Linked DNA regions of Homo sapiens: all the other regions are linked to region 3. Evidence: promoter capture Hi-C in 16 types of primary human blood cells and fetal thymus (Javierre and others, 2016). All regions are on one chromosome and are shown on one strand. Each heading gives the region's core, a stretch centred on a gene start or on the middle of the fragment in contact. The rest is flanking DNA. Distances are from core to core; before and after follow the strand shown.

Evidence for each region. Contacts are between HindIII fragments. The CHiCAGO score rates a contact against its expected background, and 5 or more counts as called.
Region 1: a fragment that was not itself captured here is called in contact with the fragment with the promoter of NAPB in region 3 in 1 of 17 cell types (activated CD4 T cells); the score reaches 5.2 in activated CD4 T cells.
Region 2: a contact is called between the fragment with the promoter of GINS1 here and the fragment with the promoter of NAPB in region 3, in 1 of 17 cell types (total B cells). The highest score is 8.2, in total B cells.
Region 4: a fragment that was not itself captured here is called in contact with the fragment with the promoter of NAPB in region 3 in 2 of 17 cell types (activated CD4 T cells and non-activated CD4 T cells); the score reaches 5.7 in activated CD4 T cells.
Region 5: a contact is called between a fragment that was not itself captured here and the fragment with the promoter of NAPB in region 3, in 8 of 17 cell types (total CD8 T cells, total CD4 T cells, non-activated CD4 T cells and 5 more). The highest score is 14.5, in total CD8 T cells.
Region 6: a fragment that was not itself captured here is called in contact with the fragment with the promoter of NAPB in region 3 in 2 of 17 cell types (naive B cells and total B cells); the score reaches 6.6 in naive B cells.
Region 7: a contact is called between a fragment that was not itself captured here and the fragment with the promoter of NAPB in region 3, in 1 of 17 cell types (non-activated CD4 T cells). The highest score is 5.1, in non-activated CD4 T cells.

What each region holds. Positions count from the first base shown.
Region 1 is chr20:21,571,264-21,574,122 of GRCh38, reverse strand. The region is part of intron 1 of LINC01727 (long intergenic non-protein coding RNA 1727); the gene reads right to left. Among named protein-coding and RNA genes, the nearest start is that of LINC01727, 2.7 kb to the right of the region's middle. The HindIII fragment of the contact is 913 bases long and covers 823-1,735 here.
Region 2 is chr20:25,406,297-25,409,275 of GRCh38, reverse strand. It overlaps GINS1 (GINS complex subunit 1), which reads right to left and starts at 1,603. Exons shown (of 7, transcript NM_021067.5): 1 at 1,381-1,603. The coding sequence starts at 1,455. It overlaps LOC105372581 (a long non-coding RNA gene), which reads left to right and starts at 981. Exons shown (of 3, transcript XR_937403.3): 1 at 981-1,205. RefSeq lists enhancers at 457-1,214, 1,312-1,561. The HindIII fragment of the contact is 9,972 bases long and covers 991-2,979 here.
Region 3 is chr20:23,419,730-23,422,807 of GRCh38, reverse strand. NAPB (NSF attachment protein beta) reads left to right here and starts at 1,320. Exons shown (of 11, transcript NM_022080.3): 1 at 1,320-1,503. The coding sequence starts at 1,406. RefSeq lists an enhancer at 942-1,131 and silencers at 1,382-1,471, 2,102-2,331. The HindIII fragment of the contact is 2,788 bases long and covers 521-3,078 here.
Region 4 is chr20:21,546,136-21,548,960 of GRCh38, reverse strand. No RefSeq gene overlaps it. Among named protein-coding and RNA genes, the nearest start is that of BETALINC1, 17 kb to the right of the region's middle. The HindIII fragment of the contact is 2,819 bases long and covers 142-2,825 here.
Region 5 is chr20:25,088,467-25,091,270 of GRCh38, reverse strand. No RefSeq gene overlaps it. Among named protein-coding and RNA genes, the nearest start is that of VSX1, 7.7 kb to the right of the region's middle. The HindIII fragment of the contact is 721 bases long and covers 1,012-1,732 here.
Region 6 is chr20:25,186,981-25,190,005 of GRCh38, reverse strand. LOC101926889 (a long non-coding RNA gene) reads left to right here. Exons shown (of 6, transcript NR_109994.1): 3 at 2,059-2,153. Among named protein-coding and RNA genes, the nearest start is that of ENTPD6, 7.2 kb to the left of the region's middle. The HindIII fragment of the contact is 1,787 bases long and covers 698-2,484 here.
Region 7 is chr20:25,206,184-25,209,069 of GRCh38, reverse strand. ENTPD6 (ectonucleoside triphosphate diphosphohydrolase 6) reads right to left here. Exons shown (of 15, transcript NM_001247.5): 2 at 2,480-2,548; 3 at 1,673-1,994. The coding sequence starts at 2,533. Among named protein-coding and RNA genes, the nearest start is that of ENTPD6, 12 kb to the right of the region's middle. The HindIII fragment of the contact is 1,556 bases long and covers 572-2,127 here.

The DNA of each region.
Region 1 (2,859 bases), core at 30-2,529, 1.8 Mb after region 3:
AGGACTGTATCCTACATGTGTCCCCACACATGCACATAATGACAGTTGTACAAGGCTACTCATTGTGGCACTGTTGTCATAGCAAAGATTGGAACCAACCAAGATGTCCTTCAGGTGCGGACTGCTTAAATAAATAACACCTCATCCACATAATGGAATGCCAGGCAGAGAGAATGAAGAAATCTGTTTCTTCCTAATGACATAATCTCCCATTATTTAATGAAGAAAAGGGGCAGGCTATGTATGTCAGGTACAATTATTGGTGGTTTTTGAAGGGAAAATGAGAAAGAGAAAGAAACTTTTTTTTTTCTTTTTGCTTATGCATGTACTATCTGTGGAAGGATACAGAAGACGCTGATTACTTTAGTTGGCTCTGCTGGGGAGAACGGAGCGGCTGGAAGACAGAAGAATAAGGAAGATGAGATCTAACACCTTTCTGTTGTTGTCGAATTTTGAACCAGATAGAAGTTTTATCTATTTTCTAAATAAATACAAAAACAAAAACCCCAGGCCCTGAATACAGCTTTAGGTGAAAACGGTGTTCCCAATTCCCACTCCTCACCCATACCCAGCCTCCTATCTCCCTCTCAGCCACGCCATCCCACACTTCCCACTCCTCATCCATATCCAGCCTCCTATCTCCCTCTCAGCCACGCCATCCCACACTTCCCACTCCTCATCCATACCCAGCCTCCTATCTCCCTCTCAGCCACGCCATCCCACTCCTGTCCAGCCTTTTCCTTCCATTCCAATTTTATAAAACTTCCCTTCACCTCACTCCTTTGGCGGGATGATTTTTAACACTTCACAGTTTTACAAGCTTTTGCATTTCAGATTTGAGTCTCTGACTTAAATGAAAAGCTGGAAGTGTTTCTTATAGAAAAACTCACATATATGTACAAAGTATTCTTGCAATGGAAGAAAAATGAAAGGCATCTAAATGTCCATCTGTAGGGGAGAAAAATCAAACAAATCAGATTATTTCCACACTGCACAACAGCATGCAGCGGTAAAACAGTCAGATCACTTTGTGTTTAAAAACCTCAGGCCGGGTGTGTGGCTCACACCTGTAATTCAAGCACTTTGGGAGGCCAAGACAGGAGGATTGCTTGAACCCAGTAGTTCAAGACTAGCCTGAGCATCGCAGGGAGATCCTGTCTCTACAAAAAATTAGCCAGGCATGGCAACTTGCACCTGTAGTCCTAGCTACTTCGGAGGCTCAGGTGGGGGGATCCCTTGAGCCCAGGAGTTCGGGGCTGCAGTGAACTGTGCCATTGCACTCCAGCCTGGGCAACAGAGCAAGACCCTGTCTCAAAAATAAATAAATAAAAATAAAAATAAACCTTATACAATATATTTTCAGACTTTATATAGTACATAAAAATATATTATCAATATAAGCATAAACTTTATATAAACATATTGTATAAAGCATAGAATTAAATGTATTATATTTTTATATATTTATATAAAGTTTTAAAATATTTTTACATTTGTAAATATAAAATATATACACATATATGCCATACAAAATATATTTTATGCTTATTTATAAGTCATACACTTCATATGTGCACATGTAATGTATATTTCTACATGTCTACATCTCTGTGTAACATATAGAAACGAATATATAATATACATATATATCATTTGTAAATGCATAGGAAAGGAATGTAAATGTTCTCTAGGGGTGTAGTAAGATCGGGATGATAAAAGGAAATGCAGGAAAGCTTGAGATTGTTACTGTATGAACCTGCATGGGCTTGTGTGATGTTTTTAAACAATAAAAATTATTAACCATCTTTTGGTGCCTGGCATGACAAGTATCTGCCACTAGAGGGCACTGGAGATCGCTAAATATTTCCCAGGATTATCTTTGAGGGAGGGGGCGCGGGTGCAGGGGATTTGAAGGAAGCCCCTTTACCTCTTTATAAGGGTCCCTTTTTCACGCTGGGGGACTGGGCCCTGAACCTGAACTTTCAGTGAGGGTAAAGCTTGGCTGGAAGCCCGCAACCCTTCTCTCTCCACTCCCTCAAATAGGCCCCTGCAGCCATTTGGGGTGGGAGTCCTTTATCCAGCCCACCCCATTTTGCCCACCAGTTTCGCCCACCAGCCCTGGTCTGCGGGACGCTGCTCCGGTGTGGAAGGTGGAACTGGCATCGAGTGCATTTCAGTGAGCTCACCTTCACTCCTTATTCCACATGGGTGTTCAACGGGGAGCCCTGAGACATTGGAAGGGGCCGTTTGTGATTGCTCAATTATAGTGGAGACATCTTCGCATTTGGGGGAGGAAGAGGGAAGCTAGAATTTCTGAAATGCTCAAAATTCAGCCTGAAATGCATGTCGGTGAACAACCAGTTGCTAATTACCTACCCTAGGCCCTAACTCTCTGACACGTAATCATAGAGCATTATCGCCTGGTTTAGTATGAGCGGAATATGCAGGAACCCAGAGTCAGTCAACGTGTGTTGTTGTGCCTAGAAATTTACTGAGCGTTTTTCACCAGTATGGAAAACCACGGCACCATGACGCCAAGCCGGTAGTGTCTGAGTCACTGGTCCTGTGCTCCAGGCTTGGCCTGGCTCTGGGGTTGTCGGGATCACATTCTTACAAGACAAACACCTGGATACTTTATTACGTCTTCTAGAGAGCTTGTGCCCAAGCATTTACCTATCGAATATGTGTGTGTGTGTGTGTGTGTGTGTGTGTGTGTGTGTTTACCAAAAGTTACCTTTTTCAACTTCTCTTTTGTTTCTCCTTTATATTACAGAAAGAACTTTTTGTAATGATGCATGTAAGTAGATTATACAATCTGTGAATTTCATTTCAAGATAGGACAGGAAGCGTTACAAAATA
Region 2 (2,979 bases), core at 354-2,853, 2.0 Mb before region 3:
TACCTTCAAAACACAAAAATTACCCTATCACTTCCTTGTCTAAAATCCTCTACCAGCTCCCAGCATGCCTTATAAGTGAACAACAAATTCATGTAGGCTGTGAGCCACCTTCCTAGACTCCCCACAGGCCCTATTGGTCACCCTCTCCAGTGTGACCACGTGACTTTGTGCTGCAGCATCCTTTGGCTGGGATGCCTCGCTTCCTTCTCAGATCAGTAACCTCATCCTTGAGGATGGAAAGGCTCATATATCACCTCTTCTACCCCAGCTCATACTGGTGTTTCTCCTTCGTGCTCCTTGCTATACCTCCTTAGTATCACTTAGCGTGGTGAATTCTATTATCTGTTTTTGTGCCCATCTTCCAGCAGAATGTGTCCTGACATCCACATAATGCCTGCTCTATGACGTAAGTGAAATATACAATTTAGAGTGCAGGCTCTGGAGCCAGAGTGCCAGGGTTCAAATCCTAGCTTTCTTGCTGTGTCACCTTAGGCAATATACTTAAATCTCCCCAATCCTATGCATATATAGCTGAAAAAAGTAGAAAACAATAGTTTAAACATCAAAAAGTTATTTTTGTTTTGTTTGGGACAGGGTCTCCCTGTCACTCAGGCTGGAATGCAGTGGCAGGATCAAGCGATCCTCCCGCCTCAGCCTCCCAAAGTGCTGGGATTACAGGCAGGAGCCATGGTACCGGGCCCTCAAAGGGTTATTAGAAAGACAAAAGATAATGTACATGAAGTGCTTAGCACTCTCCCTGGGGTAGCAGTGATAGAAAAATACAAATAATCATAATATTAATAGTAACAGCAGCAGCAGGAGAAAAGTAATATTAATAGCTAACACTGACTCAGCCCTTACTGTATGTGAGGCATATGCAGAGACCCTTACACATGCCACTCATTTTGCGTCCACTACATCATGCGTTGGGTACTATTATTGTCACCATCCCCATTTTTGCGTATGAGAAAACTGAGAGCACAGAAAGCTTGAGTAACTGCCCCAAAGTCACACTACAGAACCAGAATCTCAGCCAGGTTCCAGAGGCCTAGCTTTTACTGACCACGATTAGATGCCTGAGTGAGCAAGAAATGCTAAATTATCAGGCAACCTGTAAATATTTTAAGGGACCGGAACAAATCTGTCCAAGGAAAACTGCTAAAATGCAAAATTTGCTCAGATGAGGAAATTCACCAAATCGCTGGGTAGCGTAAGCATGAATGCTTTCTCTTTCCTCCTGAATTTTGTTTTGCTGCTTCCCAAGTTTTCCGGAGCTCGGAGGGAACAAGGTGCGAAAGTGAACCCTGACGGGGAGCCGCCCCGCCCCAGAGCCCAGGGCCCAACGCCGGCATGCCCCGTCCAAGTCTACCCGCCCCTCACGTTGAAGGCAGGCAGTTGCCCTTCGGGCGCGCGATGCAGCTCGCGGATCAGTTCCATGGCTTTTTCGCAGAACATGGCGGACGCTTCCCACTCCCGCGGCCTTGCCAACCACCAGCTCTCACGCCAAAATGGTATCTGGGCTCTCGGCGCCTCACTCCTTTCGTTCTAGTCCTACAGCGCCAGGCTCTCGCCTCGGCCTCCGCTCCGCGCTTTGGCGCCGAACAAAGCTAGCCAATAGGAACGCGCCTACGGCGCCCGAAAAGGGACATCCACCGCTCAGCCGCATTCCAAGAGGGGCGGAGTGGGAGGGGTCTTTCCAAGGTGAGGTCCCCGCCCCGGAGATGGCAGAACCCCTCGGCTGAGCAGAGACGGCTTTTCCAGTTCTCAGGCAGTGGGCCGGGGGACTCTACGGGCAGCAGAGCTGGAAATAAATGCACGCCCCGCAGCTTCCTTGTCATTTTCCTTTTGATTCATTCATTCTCGTTTAGGTTCAAGAAAAGAGCACTTTGAGGTTAAGAGGAAAGGCCCAAAAACTTGGTGTGCATTGGTAGGACGCAAGGGTTTCAGTTTTGCAGTGCGGGTTTTCTGTTTGATATTAAAATGAAACTCTCTTTTATTGGGTACCTAGTGCTGGTAGGGACTGCAGTGTGTATTTCATTCCCACAATTATCTCTGAAGTGTTTTAAGACCCGGGATTAATAAGGAAACAGAAGTTAGGTAACTTGCCCAAGGTCACACAGCTCCAGAGTGATTAGACTGTTATTTAGGCTTTCCATTTCCAACACCACAGTACCACCCTTTGATTTTAAAATAGTCTTTTAAAAATATTTGTAATATCTGCCCTAGATTAATACGAATTCACTAGGAATTTTCTTGGCTAGATGGTTATGGAATATTTCTTAAGCATATGGAAGATGGGAATCACTGCTAAAGAATTGTTTTATTAGGCAATTTTTCAAAAAGCAATGTTAATTTCTAACAAGCAATCTTGGATTTTTTTTTTTTTGAGATGGAGTCTCGCTCTGTCGCCCAGGCTGGAGTGCAGTGGCGCGAACTCGGCTCACTGTAAGCTCCGCCTCCCGGGTTCACGCCATTCTCCTGCCTCAGCCTCCCGAGTAGCTGGGACTACAGGCGCCCGCCACCACGCCCAGCTAATTTTTTGAATTTTTTAAGTATAGACGGGGTTTCACCGTGTTAGCCAGGACGGTCTCAATTTCCTGACCTCGTGATCCGCCCACCTCGGCCTCCCAAAGTGCTGGGATTACAGGCATGAGCCACCGCAACCGGCGCAATCTTGGATTAATTCTAGCTAACCCTAGAAACTATGTTGATCTTTTGCAAATATACAGTAGATATGTCATCTAAGGAATGGGCATGGGAATGGCCTACTCAGGCTTATGTTGAATAATGACATTGCCTTTTTTTTTTGGAGACAGGGTCTTAACTCCCGTTACCCAGGTGGAGTGCAGTGGCGCCATCTCAGCTCACTGCAGCCTCCACTTCCCGGGCTGAGGTAATTTTCCCCCCTCAGCCCTCTGAGTAGCTGGGACTACAGGCTCAGGCCACCACACCTGGCTATTTTGTATTTTAAGTAGAGAC
Region 3 (3,078 bases), core at 71-2,570:
TAGAGCTTCTGCATCGAACCACGTTAGGGAACAACTGATTTAATCAACACACTGATTTACTTAGGAGCTTTTGACTTAGCCTCACTCCATTAAGCCCCCATAGACTGCTCTGCTTTCCAAATGCTTATGTTCACTTTTTACAGTTTTTCTCTGGTCTCCCCTGCATTTACGGTCACCTCCAATTTCCCGCCTCCTTCTCTCTCCAAAAACACACAGCTCAGCTTTTCAAAGTTAGAATAATGCATGTAGTAATCGTAAATAAACTGCACGAAGAGCTGAGATTTCTTTCTATCTCTACGGAGTCCTGAAATGTATGAACTCTGTGACATGTGCTTTAGTCAACTTTCTTTCTAGGAGTTTGGCCCCTCTTGCCTTGCCCTCTACAGACAGTCTTCATTTTCTAAAATTTTGCATGCCAGTGCCCAGAGTGTATTTATTAACAGTTTGAAACTGTCATAAATCTCACTTGGCAGTGATTTTCTTATTAGTTTCAGCATCTCTGCCTTAGCACTGCCAAGCTTGAATGGTCTAGACATTGTCTTCAAAAATAACTCCCTCTGGGACAGGCCTGAAAGTCTCTGGCACAGGATCCCATCTATCTATGGATACTTCTCCTAGGAGATTAGAAGTCTTCCTGGCAGGCAAACATTTTGTCCCTGGAGATCCATCCACTATGGCCAGTATTATGTAAAGGATAAGAGTTCAATGGTTCACATCCATTGAATATAATTCAGTCAACAAAAGAGTGGATTATGCATATATTGCATATATGCAACTCATTTATAACCAAGGAAGAGAGGACCAACAGAAAGTTACAGTTTGGGGAGATTTAAAAATAACTGAACTTATATTGGGGACGTCTTGCTCTTGGAGATAAAAATGGCTCTTATTGCCAGCTGTTGCTCGTTTTTTGGTGGGCGGTATCAAGCATGTGATGCTTTGGTGGCTACACCAGATTCTCTTTTGCAGAACTTGCATGAAGGGTGTGGGTTCCATCCAATCTGTTATCCCCTGTTCCTTCATCCATCCCATTGCCATGCGAGTCTTACTGAGGAGGTGATCTTTACTAGAGGCCACGGATCATTTTTCCATTTCTGCATACATACAAAATTAAAGTTCACCTTGGCCCAGGACCCCTTTGGGGGGGTCACGCCCCCTGCGCCGACGTCCTGGGAGCTAGCGGTGCGCAAGCTCGGCTCACACACACCCCGCCCCGGGGCCTCCTGGGAACTGTAGTAGGCGGCTCGCGAATCCCCGCCGCCATGACAGGACCCGGACTACAGCTCCCGAAAGGCCTCGCGCGTCGCGCCTGCGCCTGCGTCCCTGCGGCCGCCAGAGGGAGGGTTAAGGCGCCTGGGCGCACAGCGAGCCGGCTGAGGGGGCTGTGGCGGCCGCGGCGGGCGACATGGACAACGCGGGGAAGGAGCGTGAGGCAGTACAGCTGATGGCGGAGGCCGAGAAGCGAGTCAAGGCCTCCCACTCCTTCCTCCGAGGGCTGTTTGGGTGAGCGCCAGACCGTGCGTGCCCTGGGGGGGGGGGGTCTCCGTACTTGGCCCCCTTCCTTTCAGGCTGACCCCCCGAGTCCCCCACGCAACCTCTGGGGCCCTCAGACCACGTCTAGGGGCCCTCAGCCTGCAGGCGCCCTCCAGAAATCCTGTAGGGTCCCCCAGCGCCCCCTGGAGCCCCCAGGACGCCCAGGGGCCCTCAGTCCGCACGCGCCCTCCAGAGACCCCACAGGCCCCCCCAGGGTCCCTGGAAACCCCGCATCCTCCCAGGGGCTCTCAGCCCCCACGCGCACTTTAGAGACCCCCTAGGGCCGGCAGAACTCCCCAGGGTTCCTCAGCCCCCACACGCTCTCCGGATCCCCTAACACGCCCCCTTAGAATCCCCAGAGTCTCACAGGGACCCTCAGCCCCCACGCGCCTTTCAGAGAACCCCTAGGACCCCCAGAGCTCCCCAAGCGCCCCACGAAGCCCCTAGAACACTCTGGGGGGGGGGCTGTCAGCCTCACGCGCCCTCTGGAGACCCCAGATCGCCCCCCTCGCCCTGGCCCGGGTTGGTGCGGGGGTCCCACGACCTAGAAGGTCAGCGGCTCCCTGAGGCCCGCGGGCGCGGTAGCTCGGGGCGCGCGTGGGGCCCCCTTCTCAGTGCGTAGCGAGTCGTATTGGTGCATTTCGCCACGCTGAAGCCCGTATCGCTCCTGAGACCGGTCCGGGTGAGGCGCGCCGGGGTGGAGCCGGAGGGGTGGGTGCGGGGGCCGCCCCCGGCGCCTGGAACGCGCACCTGGGGGCGTCCCGCCTGCAGGTGGGCCCCGCCGGGGAGGGGGCGGTCCGGCGAGGGATCCAGAGCTGGTGTGCTTGTTGGCCTCTCTCCAGGGGCCTTGCGCCGAGTACACCTTTAGTAAATACTTGACTAATGAACGAATATATTTTCTCAGCATAGTATTTTTCCTTCTCCGGAGATTGATTGATAGCCAGAGCCTCCTGTTTGATTAACGGTAACGCTGCTGCTGTTTAAGTCAGGCGTCCTTTGGGAATCCCTTTAATTTCCTGTAATTCTTCCGTGCTCTCCTAAGGAGGATTTTAAATTCCAACCTCTCAAAAAGCAGAGCCCGCACTGACAGCCCGGAAGAATTCTGGGCTGTTGAATATGTGAATGATTCAGCTGTTTAGGATGAGAAAGGCAGAAATTTTGTGTGTGCCTGTTTCGTTGTTTTCTTTTGAAAGTGAAAGATCCTTTGCTGTTACCAAGAGCAGATACTTAACCCATTGCATGACTAGACACGATTTTATTTCTGTACACATTCAGTTCAGACTCTATTTCAGAAGACAGACATAATGGGCTCTTAGCTTGTTTTGCCAACTTCATTCTTTTGGCTATAAATTATAATACTTTACCGCTATTGATACGTCTTTAGGAAATGCTTAAGGACAAGTTGCATGCAGTACGCATAACTGCAGAAATGCATAAAGGCTGCAAAAATGCAAGAAGATAAGGGTCCCTGTCCTCAGGAACCTCTCAGAGGACGTTTATCACAGCTGGTTTCTAAATTTCTCATGTGATGTGTAGGAGATATAG
Region 4 (2,825 bases), core at 302-2,801, 1.9 Mb after region 3:
TAGCCTTGTTACCTGCCTGAGCAAGCCCACTCCAAAAATACCCTCTTGTCCCCCAGCCACTTTGCAGCTAGCAGTGGTCATAGGGTAGGGTTCTGGTTTGGGCCAGCGAGATGTCTGCTGGGAGAGGCTTCCAGAAAAGCTTTGCATTCCAGATGAACACACAGACTCAGCTGGTACATTTGTTTGCCATTTAGTGTGCTCCACCCTTCTCCCCCTTCTCCCTACCTGGAAAAGAATTGTGAGGCCTCCAGGGACAGGGGACGGTAGCCATTTAGCCACCACAAGGCAACATGAATCATTCATATTCCAAAGCCCTAGGGATGTAGAATTGAAACAGAAGTGTCCTCTACCCAACCTCGACTACCTACTCAAGACTTCCTGTTATGCAGAAGGAAAAAAGTCCCTGTTAATATCTTCCGTAGCAGTCAGGTGTTTTGTGGTTTGCAGCCGACTTCACCACTAACAGAGATACCAACACGCTTAAGTTATGCGACCAATAGACACAGAAGATGAAAGTCGTTGCAAGAAATTTCCATTGTCTTGATCTTGAACTGACTTCATCAAGAATATTACCTATCTCTTCAGCTGTGAAACTTCTGACCAATGGAAGAGGATTTGCAGATTCTCAGGGCAAAACCAGATGAAATGGTTGGCAACTGTAAGGTTTTTATTTTATTGCAGGTGGCATTTAAGGCCCTCAGCTGAGTGGGTGCCTACGCGGCAACGTAGTTAAAACAAATGGCATAAAGCAGGTCTTCTGGTCACTGTGGAGTGGCTTACTAACTCAACTGCTCCAACCAACAGGCTGCATTTGGGCTTTTCTAAGACAGGAACCCTATCTTCTCCAGATATTATTTACTTTCCTTTACTTTCCTCCTTTTTTTTTTTTTTTTTTTTTTTTTGAGACGGAGTCTCACTCTGTCGCCAGGCTGGAGTGCAGTGGCGTGATCTCGGCTCACTGCACCCTCCACCTCCCGGGTTCAAGCGATTCTCCTGCCTCAGCCTCCATAGTAGCTGGGACTGTAGGTGTGTGCCACCACACCCAGCTAATTTTTGTATTTTTAGTAGAGACAGGGTTTCTCCATGTTGGCCAGGATGGTCTGGATCTCTTGACCTTATGATCCACCCACCTCGGCCTCCCAAAGTGCTTAGATTACAGGCGTGAGCCACTGCTCCCGGTCTTACTTTCTTCTTTCAAAGGGTCTCCTGATTCTGTTCTCACTGGGAAGCAAGGCTTCCAGAACTAAAGGCACAGAAGTAGACCATGGCTGGGAACCGTACTCTGGGATAAGACCTCTGAATGAATGCACTACTTTTTTTTTTTTTTTTTTTTTTTTGCCCTTGATCAAGTTTTTTTTCATTTTTAAATTTTTAACTGTGCTTAAAAAAAACATAAAAATTTACCATTTTAACCATTTTTAAGTGTACGGTTTGTAGGGTTAAGTATATCTACATTATTGTGCAGATCTCCAGAGGTCTTTCATCTTGCAAAGCTGAAACTTTGTGCCCCCTGAACAACAGCTCCCCATTCTCCCTCCCCAGCCCCTGGCAACCATCATTCTACCTTCTGTTTTTATGAATTCGTCATTCTAGGTAGCTCGTATAAGCAGAGTCATACAGTATTTGTCTTTTAGTAACTGATGTATTTCACTTAGCATAATGTCCTCAAGGTTCATCTATGTTGCAGCATGCGACAGAATTTCGTTTCTTCTTTAGGCTGAATCATATTTCATTGTACGTGTCTATATACCACACTTCTTTATCCATTCATCTGTTGGTAAACATTTGGGTTTGCTTCCTTGATCATGTTTTTATTTCTTTTATCTCCCAATCATCAATCCCTCCTGAAAATATCATTTAGAGTGCCTTCACTTGGATAAAAACTATTGGTTTCCATCTATTATTTCTACTTGAGCGTAATCATTCAAAAGGGAAAAGCCTAGGTGTTTGAATGTTCAGGATTATATTGTAGCCATCACAGGCCAAAAATAGGATGTATATAGAGGTAAGAATACCATGAATAGCAGCTATGAACATTCTAAAGAAATTATCCACAGACCACCAAAAAATTAATCCAACATTTCAAGATGGTATTTGAGACAATCCCTAGACTATTCTCTGCCCTGTTCTGTGAGGTTAAATGCATGCTTTACAATAAATGGAAGGTTTTTAAAAACATAGCTGTAATGTCCTGCAGCTCCCCCCATCAAAAAGTTAATTCTATTTCCCCATCCCTCAAGTCAGCTGGCTTTGAGCCACAGAACGTGACATGGTCCAGAGCTTAGGCTGCAAGGGAACTTACAACCTTCACCTTTGCCCCTTGGAACACCCTTTGATGATGTTGAAAGCTACTCTGTAAGGAAGTGGGTGAAATCTCCTGGAGGGCAAGGGCCACGTGGAGAGCCTACCCCAACTGACAGTTCCAAGTGCCAGCACTGAGTGAGGCCATGTAAACCTTCCAGTCCCACCCGCTTCAAGCTAAATACAACCGCAGAGGAAAGCCCTGGAGAAGCCAACAAAGGAAACACCCAGCCAATCCACACCACCACAAGAAGTAATAAACCTCTGCTGTTTTAAGTCACTATGTTTTGGGGGTGGATTCTTATGCAGCAACAGTTGACTGATACTCTGTGTAGGCACTAAGTTATCTCAGGGCCCATATTCCATTCTTAAGTTGTTTGTTTGTTTTGCTGAGTAAACAACAATTTAAAAAAAAAGGACAAATAGGAAAAAAAAACCTTTAATTCTACCAAGAACTATTAACTGATGTTAATGTTTTATTATTAATATCCTTTCTTCTGTACATAATTTATTTTTACTTTCAT
Region 5 (2,804 bases), core at 123-2,622, 1.7 Mb before region 3:
AATGTGGGAGGAACCCAGGAAGTTCTAGTAGGGGAGGGGCAGGGACACAGAGAAGCTGTGACAGCAAGTGGCATTTCCCAAGGCTCAATCACACCAGGACCTCGGGTGACTATGCAAGGTGATTTCTCTTCGGGATTTTCCTACCACAGGATCATTGCACCCCTTGGCCAGGTATCATCCATCAACCCCTGTCATCTGTCAAGAGTGGCTGCTGGAGGCATCACCCTCTGCCCCCCAGGACTTCAGTCCTAGCTGGTGCACTCCTGGCTTTGGGGCATCCTCCGCTCGAGTGGCAGGTGCTGCAGGCAGGAAGCTGTGGTGTGTGTGTGAACTGTCTACAGAGGCTGCAGGCGACCCGGAGGGCAGCCTGCCAGCACTGTCAGCTACAGCATCCGGCAAGGCAGATGGGTAAAGCAGTAAACCAGCAGGTGAGTGAACGGTTGCAATTGTGGCGGATGCCTTGGAGGGAGCTGACTGGGAGTTGAGCACAGAGGGAGGAGCAAAGACCTCCTTCAAATAGGGTCATGGCCGGTGCCTGCCTCCTTGGAGTAAGTAGGTCCCCAGCAAGCAGAGGCAGGAACCCGCAGTCACGCCACCCTGGCAGAGTTGTTCTGACCTTTGCCTAGAGCCTCGGTGCTACCTGTGAGCTGGGATAGTGATCACATTCACTTCTAATATGAGCTGGTTAAAAGCACATTATCATTGGCCAGGTTTCTCAATTGCCAAGAGATGACCTAGTGCTTGTTTAATACCAGAAATGAAGCTCAGCAGCAGCTCTTGGGCTGTCCTTCAGCGGCCCCTCACATGCCCAGGTGTGACCTTCTGGTTAGGGTGGCCTATGTCACCTCCCTCTCACCTTCTTGATGTCCACACAGTGCACCTGCTTTTGTCTGCCATGGGGGAGAGGAGGAGAGGCAGATCCTTCTGTGCCCTCTGCTCATGACCTTTTCTGCAGTGGGGTCCGAGGGTGGGCTTAGCTCAGGGACTGGATGGTGTGTCCTCTCCTAAGCTTAACTTGGCTCTGGGTTCCTTTGTCTTACAGATGGAACTTAACCAGAAGAAGCTAAGGAAGAGAAGAGAGGAGAGGAGAGAGACAGTGAAGAGGCTGGAAAAGGAGGAAGAGAAGTATGTTCTTTGGAATCAAAGTGTTACCTGGATTCCTACCCAGGATTTTCCTATTGTCTCAGGACCTAAAGGGAAAAGACCGGCCATGGGGCATGTGAGCCTCTGGGAAATCTGCCTCAAGCCCATAATGCCATCCGTCTACAGCAGTTGGAACAGTGTAAGAGTCAGACCTCGCCAGATCCCAAGCGCTGCAACATGAAGAACAAAACCAAGGTTAAGCCACAGACCAGGCCCCGTGGAGATTTCGCTGCTTCTAGCCTGACCGTCAGGATTTGGGTCCTGACCGCTCCCCTGGCTGTTGGGCTGGTCCCAGCTCTGGGCCTCCGTTTTCTCACCCACAGAATGGGGACGATACAGGACCTCCCTCATCAGAGCTGTCACAAGTGGTAAGTGAATGGGTTCGTGAGAAGCTCTGCAGTGCCTGGCGCAGACCAAGGGCCCCACCGATGGTGGCTGTGAGTTTTCCCACTAATGTATTTTTTGATATGTAACATTTTAAAATAAAATTTTCTCTTTTCTTTTTTCCTTCTCCTTTTAGAACCTCAATTTCCTGATTCCCTAAGCTCATGTCTGGTGCTGACTATTATCTTAGTGCTGAACTCAAGCTTTCCTCATAGCTCCTCAGAGCATTTGAGAATAACTGGGTGTTTCTGCACCCACAACATATTTGTAAAACCAGTCAGGATATATGGTTCATGAAGCATTAATAGAAGATGTGGTTCTCAAACTTGAGTGGGGCTCAGGGTCCTCTGGGGGGCTTGTGAACACACAGATCATGGGTCTCCCCAAGGTCTCTGATGTTGGAGGTCTGGATGGGGTCCAAGAGTTTGTTTTTCTGGCCAATGCCCAGGTGGCCAGAACCACTTTTGGGAACCACACTTTGAGAACCACTGGCACATAGTAAGGAGGCCTCTTCCAGAGGCCACCAGGGAAGTCACTGTCCTGGAAGGTAAAGAACATTTGTCCAGGGGATGTGTTAATGAAAAGACTCAGTTCTGGGCTCCTGGAGCCAGGTAGGAGATGAGAACAGACACAAAAGAACTTAAGAATAAGAAAATAAGACCAAAGGAGCATCAAGTGCTTCAAGAGTGCAGCAGTGATTTTGTTCCAGCTGGGGCAGGAAAACCTGGGGAGGCTCTGCGGTGAGGAACCATTTGGGCTGGGCGTTGATGGGTGGCTGAGCACTGCTTGGCGCCTGGCCCTGCAAGTGCGATGTGGTGGGTCCTGTGTCCCACCTTGAATCTGTGTCCTGTCCTTGAATCTGGTGGCTTGTGGCTGCTTAAACCAGTCAGCAGGGCCAGTGCACACTAATGCCTTGGGTACAATGCCCAGGGCCTATGCTTCTAATGCCATTGAATATATTTTAAAATCAGAAGGAAAAATGAGTACAATAATAAAGAATATACAATAATGAATCTAGACTGGATTATATTCACCTTTATGCCAACATAGGCACAAAATACAACTTTAAATATTTTTATGGAAGAAGGGGCCCATGAAAGCAGAAGTGCCACTCCCCCAAAACTCATGCTATGGCCTCGCTGACTGAACGTGATGGAAGTAATGCTCTGACTTCTGTGGAAGGGCCAGCAAAGGCTGTGCAGCATCTGCCTGGTTCTTGTGGGATGCTCCCAACTCCCCGAGAGCCCACAAGGCCAATCAGCCTGGGCCATGTGAGC
Region 6 (3,025 bases), core at 342-2,841, 1.8 Mb before region 3:
TTTATTTTGTGCATTTCCTTCATCTATACATGATATTATTATTTTTCTCCACTAATTTTCTTTTTTGTTTGAGATGGAGTTTCGCTCTGTCACCCAGGCTGGAGTGCAGTGGCATGATCTTGGCTCACTGCAACCTCCACCTCCCTGGTTCAAGCAATTCCCCTGCCTCAGCCTCCCAAGTAGCTGGGATTACAGGCACACGCTGGCATGCCCAGCTAATTCTTTTGTATTTTTAGTAGAGACGGGGTTTCACCATGTTGGCCAGACTGGTCTCGAACTCCTGACCTCAGGCAATCCACCTGCCTCAACCTTCCAAAGTGCTGGGATTACAGGCGTGAGCCACCGCGCCGGCCCACTAATTTGTTAATATGATAAGTTCTAACGTTGAATCATTCCCGCATTCCCAAATAAGCATACTTTTAAAATACATTGCTGGATTTGACTTGCTAACATTGTGTTTAGGTTCTTTGCTCCTACATTCACAAAAAGATTGGCTTCTAATGTTCTTTCTAATATAGTACTTGTTTAGAAACTATCAAGATTAAATTAGCCTTACAGAATGAGTTGGAGATTTTCTGCCTTTAAATCTTCTAAATGGGTTTAAGTTTTGAAGTTTCTATTTCTTGAATATTTGATGGAATATTTCTGTTTTCTGTGTGAAATATTTTAAACTGCTGATTCTATTTCTAATCAAGCTTTCTACTTCTTTCGCAGGCAGTTTTGGCATCTTTCTAAAGGAATCATCACATTTCACCTAAGTTTTCAGTGTTACTGGTATAACATTATTCACATCTTCTTAGCATTTGCAGCGATAGCCTCCATTTCACTCATAATAATTAATTTGTAAATTTTCCTTTTTTTCTTGGTCAGCATCTCCAGAAATGCCTAAGTTTTATTACTTCTCTTCCCCAAGAGCTAACTTTTGGCTTTGTGGAACTCCTCTGTATCTTTGTTTAATATTTTTAAATTTATTTCATCTTTATTATTTCTTTCTTTGTACTTAGAGTGTGTTGTTTTTTAAAATTTTCTAGTTTAAGCTGAACACATATTAATTTTTAGCCTATCTTCTTTTTTTAAATTAAAGACTAAAACTTTATTATTCTTATTTAAAATAAATGAAGCAAAAGAAGTTACAAGAGAACTTATGTCTAACCAAGAGGCAGGTGGGTGAGTGGGAAGGGAGGCTGTTCTCTGCTCACTGCAATGCTGCACATCATGGTGGAGAGTAGGTCATGCTGTGAGAAACAAACTCACTGGTCCAAACCCAAAGTTTGGGCTCAGAGACCCAGAGAACAGTGGAAGCGAGACTTTAATGACAATCTTGCAAGATCGGGTGTCTGATGGGCAGGCACACCCAGTACAGTTTCAAAAGCAATTTATCCCCTAGTGTGCAGGTCCCTCCCTTGGTTCCTCATAGGCTGAGTACTATGGGGTCACAGTCTTCCTGGACATTGCCTATTGGTTGTTGGGTAGGGGTTTTAGGCATTTTCTTTAGGATTGTTCTGCTGCATTTTGTTGCAGCCATAATACATTGCAATCCTAGTTAGCTCAAGGGCTCTTCAAGTACTTGACTTATGACCTAAGTATCTGGGCAGGCTGATAAGAACAGACAAAGTGAGCTATTTTGCAAGCTAGTAAACTTTCATCTTAGACTAAACTCCTTTGGTTTGGGTGAGGGCAACTAAGGCAGTGGGGTAGGGTGGAGGGTGGGGAGGCGACAAGCAGGCATTGGCTATCCAAGCAGGGGCCTAGTGTATCCTGTTTCTTCTGTAGTTTGCTGACCTAAACCAATTCAAGGCACTTTGTCTTGGAAATGGACCACTGTATATATTATTTCCTTCATGCTCAGTACAGATAGCTCTCTCAGGGTTATTGTTAACATTCAAGGGGTGATAAAACAAATGCTTCCTGCAGCCAATTCCATTATCTAAGAATCCAAGTCAAATTTTGTTTTGTTTTGTTGAGAAAGGGCATTGCAAAGGTTCAAAAAAATGAAGTCCAAATAGCACTGTATCATCAAGCATTTGCCTTTTTAAAGAATGTATGTATATTTTACAGCCCAGCACCTCACGCTCAGGAAGGGTGTTTCTGAAGACTGATAAAGCCCCTTCAGTGAATGGCGCCAGGGCACAGCTGTCCACGACAAAGTGAGGGTTAGTAACTGCAGCGAGGAAGCCACATCAGAGGCCTCCTGCCTTCAGCATGGGATAGACAGGATTGCGGAGAAGGGAGGAGTTCAGGTGAAGTTTAAAATGAAGCCGTTTCTGACAGGCTGAAAGCAGGGCTGTGGGTCACAGGGTGACACATCACACTGGGCTGAGAGGCTGACTTGGGGGCCCGAGCTCAAGACAAATGCACCATGTTGTATCTGGAAGCCCCTTATCTGAGGCTGTGAGCCAAGGTGAGAGCTCCAGGCTGCTTCTCTGTGTGGAGTGGCCTGCATGGCTGAGCATCTGCAGGCGACAGGATTCCAGACAGCAAGCTTTCTCAGGGCGGAGAAGTGGAGTACGAGATTTCTCAGCACAGAGGCTGAGGGAGCTGCCTCAGGCTGGCTATCTTTGTTCCTTAGCCCTGCTCTCCTATTACCTGGGGCCTGCCCCTCCTCCCACCTATCTCCTGGCTCCCAGTCTCCCAGGCTCCAGAATGCTTGGGCCAAGGTAGCTAGGTAACCAGAAGACACTCACCCTTGGTGCACTGGAAACAGTAACACCAGAGTGTCCTCCACATGACCCCAGAACTATGACAAGGTCCCCCTCAAAAACCATCCCTACTAGGGAGCCCCAAGCCAGGCTGCCCAGTGGGAGCTATGTGCTGCTGTCTTACTCGAAGTCAACTTTCAGCCTATCTTATAAGAAATGCAGTTAGAGCTTTGCATTTCCTATAAGCACCCTTGTAGCTCTGTCCCACACATTTGGCTGTATTGTATTTTTGTAATTGTCAGTTTGGAACATTTTCTAAAGTCCACTATTACAGTGTTTCTCTGTCCATGTGTTATTTAGAAATATTTTTGCTCTCTCCATTCCAA
Region 7 (2,886 bases), core at 100-2,599, 1.8 Mb before region 3:
TGATGGGCATCTGTAGTCCCAGCTACTCAGGAGGCTGAGGCAGGAGAATCGCTTGAACCCAGGAGGCGGAGGTTGCAGTGAGCCAAGATCGCACCACTGTACTCCAGCCTGGGCAGCAGAGCGAGACTCCGTCTCAAAAAAAATAAAAATAAAATAAAAAATAAAAATCCAACTTTACTGAAGATAATTTACACACAAAACAACTGCATCAGTGTTAAATTTTAACATAGTTAATTCTTGCCAATTCAATAAACAGCGGAATAGGATAAGTGACTCCAAACTGAAAATAGGAACACCATTTCCTTGATTCTGAAATGAATTTATTAAAGGGTTCTCAAGATTAGGGTATTTTCTTCATTTTAAAAAATGGAGTGTTTTAAATTATTAGGAGTGGTATGAACTTGTGCTTACAATAAGGAGGCATACTAAATTCAGACGCGAAGACTGGACCAGAAAAAATCAGGGACAAAACTTTTTGCAAAGTCTTTTCTCTCCAAAGAGAAAACCCTGGGACATGGCTCCAAAAGCATCGCAGGCTGATGTCTGTTGCACACTTAGCTTTGAAGAAGCTTTACTTTTTAATTATTAATTTTTAAAAAGTTCCACTTAAAAAAAAATTTTTTGAGATCAAGTTTCACTCTTGTTGCCCAGGCTGCAGTGCAATGGTGTGATCTTGGCTCACTGCAAACTCCGCCTACCAGGTTCAAGCGATTCTCCTGCCTTAGCCTCCCACATAGCTGGGATTACAGGCTTCGAAGCCACTTTTAGAGATAAGCAGATATGGCATCTAAATATTTCACTACTGTAATAAGTTAAAAAATAACGCAGATGGAGTCAAAAGTAAATAAAATACACCACTCAGCTTTGGAGACAGCAGCTAGAAATGTCCAGCACCAGCAGAACCGTGCAATGCCAGGATGGTGTCTACCCCACAGGTTCCAGGTCAGCCAAGAAGAGCATGGGACACCCAGGGGACCTGCCTGACAGGGGCTGCAAACTCTCACTGGCTACAGCTAGAGAGACATGGAGGGCGAACCTCAGGGTCACGGGCACGAGAGGGGCATCAGGGAACCAAGGGAAGAGGGTGGTTGGAGAGCAGAGGAACCGGGTGGCGAGGGGGACCCCTCAAGAGAAGCCGCCCACCCCGGCCTGAGGCCCACCCTAGAAGCATAGCCAACGAAGCCCAGGCTCCAGCTCCCTTATCCAGCTGAGACCCCTCTCGGCTGTTGCCCCTGGCCATCTTGGCCCACCTGGCAGCTCCCGGTCAAGCCCAGGAGCCTTTATTATTTATCTGACTTTCCTGATTTTCTGGCTCCCATGGGACTGAATCTGGGGATACTTCCTGCCTGAACTCCCCACAAAGCCCCAAACACAACCACTGGCCTAAATCATGGTCCTAGCCACCTGACCTGCTGGTGAATGTGGGGAGGGGACAGGCCACCAAACACCTCAAGGTCTCAGCTGCCCTTCAGCATGGTCACCACTCACTAGTGTAAGAGTGATCTGGGACTCCCGGGAAATTCAGATGCTTGGACCCCAGCCCATACCAGCGTCAGCATCTCTGGGAAACTGCATTTAGACAAGCTCCCAGGTGAGTCTGTGGCAGGGGACCCGGCCAACACTGTAGCACAGGGGAGGAGATCCCGAGAGCCCTGCCATGAGAGGCGGGTACCTCTGGGGGGCCGGGTGAACTGGAAGACGTGTACTCGGGTGCCAGTGCTTCCTGCATCAAACATGATCCCGTAGAAGACCTCGTGCCCGTCTGCAGCTGTCCCCAGGGGGCTGTGGGCCTGCTGACCCCACCGGGCCCCCGGGGCTGCCCTGGTGATGCTGAAGAAGGCCTGGGTGGCGGTGGCCCGGTGCCACTTGATGTAGGCAACATAGATGAACACGCCCACACACAGCCCCAGGGGGTATGCCACCTTCGCCACCCGCAGGCTCCCGTGGTTGGATATTTTTCTCATCCTTGTTTGCCAAGGACCGTGCTGCGGCTGCTGGTGGGAAGGGGGGAGAGGCAGGAAAAGCACGTTAGGGTGCTAGGATCCAAGGAGAGTCAGACGTCCCCAGGCCCAGGGACAAAATGTTCAACCTGAAACTGCTCCGTGTTCCCCCCAGGAATCAGAAGCTTCATTTGAGCCTCATAATTATTCCAGAAGGTGTGATCCCCATCCTACAGAAGAGGAACTGAGGTTTATAAAGGCAGGACAGCCTGCTCAAGGTCGCACACATTGCAGCTGCTGACCTGGTGCACAGACCACAGTGGCTGGCTCCTCTAAGGGAGGGTCCCACCAGCTTGGGACACATGGCGATTTATGTAAAAGAAGCCACATGTAAATGGTGTTCCCAAACTGTTCATGGGAACAGAAGCGCGTATCTGATTCAGTCTTTCAATCCTCAGTTATACTTCTATTCAGGCAATTTACTTTTCGAAAGGTTTAAACTCCGTCCCTTGGGCAACTACTGAGAGCCCCAGACAAACCTGAAAAATGTAGCTCGTTTTTCTGGAAGTTTCATAACGGATACCTTTTTTCATTCACATAGCCCATTCCTGCCAAGGAGAAAATAATGTCTGTGTACTTCCAAAGCCTACAAAAATTCTACTAGAGTAGCAAAATAAATTCACTGGGTGCCATTGTTTTTGGTTCGATATACCCAAAATGAAAGCATTTGTTCAAGTTTCATTGGCTGCTCCAGTGCGAGGCAGCATGTGGGAACCTGAGGCTTCAAAGGACAAGAAGTGTGGGCCGACTCTAGGGCCCCCAACCTTGGGGAACGTCCATCAGCCTGTCCCTCCCTCACTCTCTCAGTCGGTCCTGGTGAGTGGCCACTCCTAGGGGAGCAGGGATCAGGAGGATGCCGGGCTGGAAGTGGCACCGGCTCTGCCCG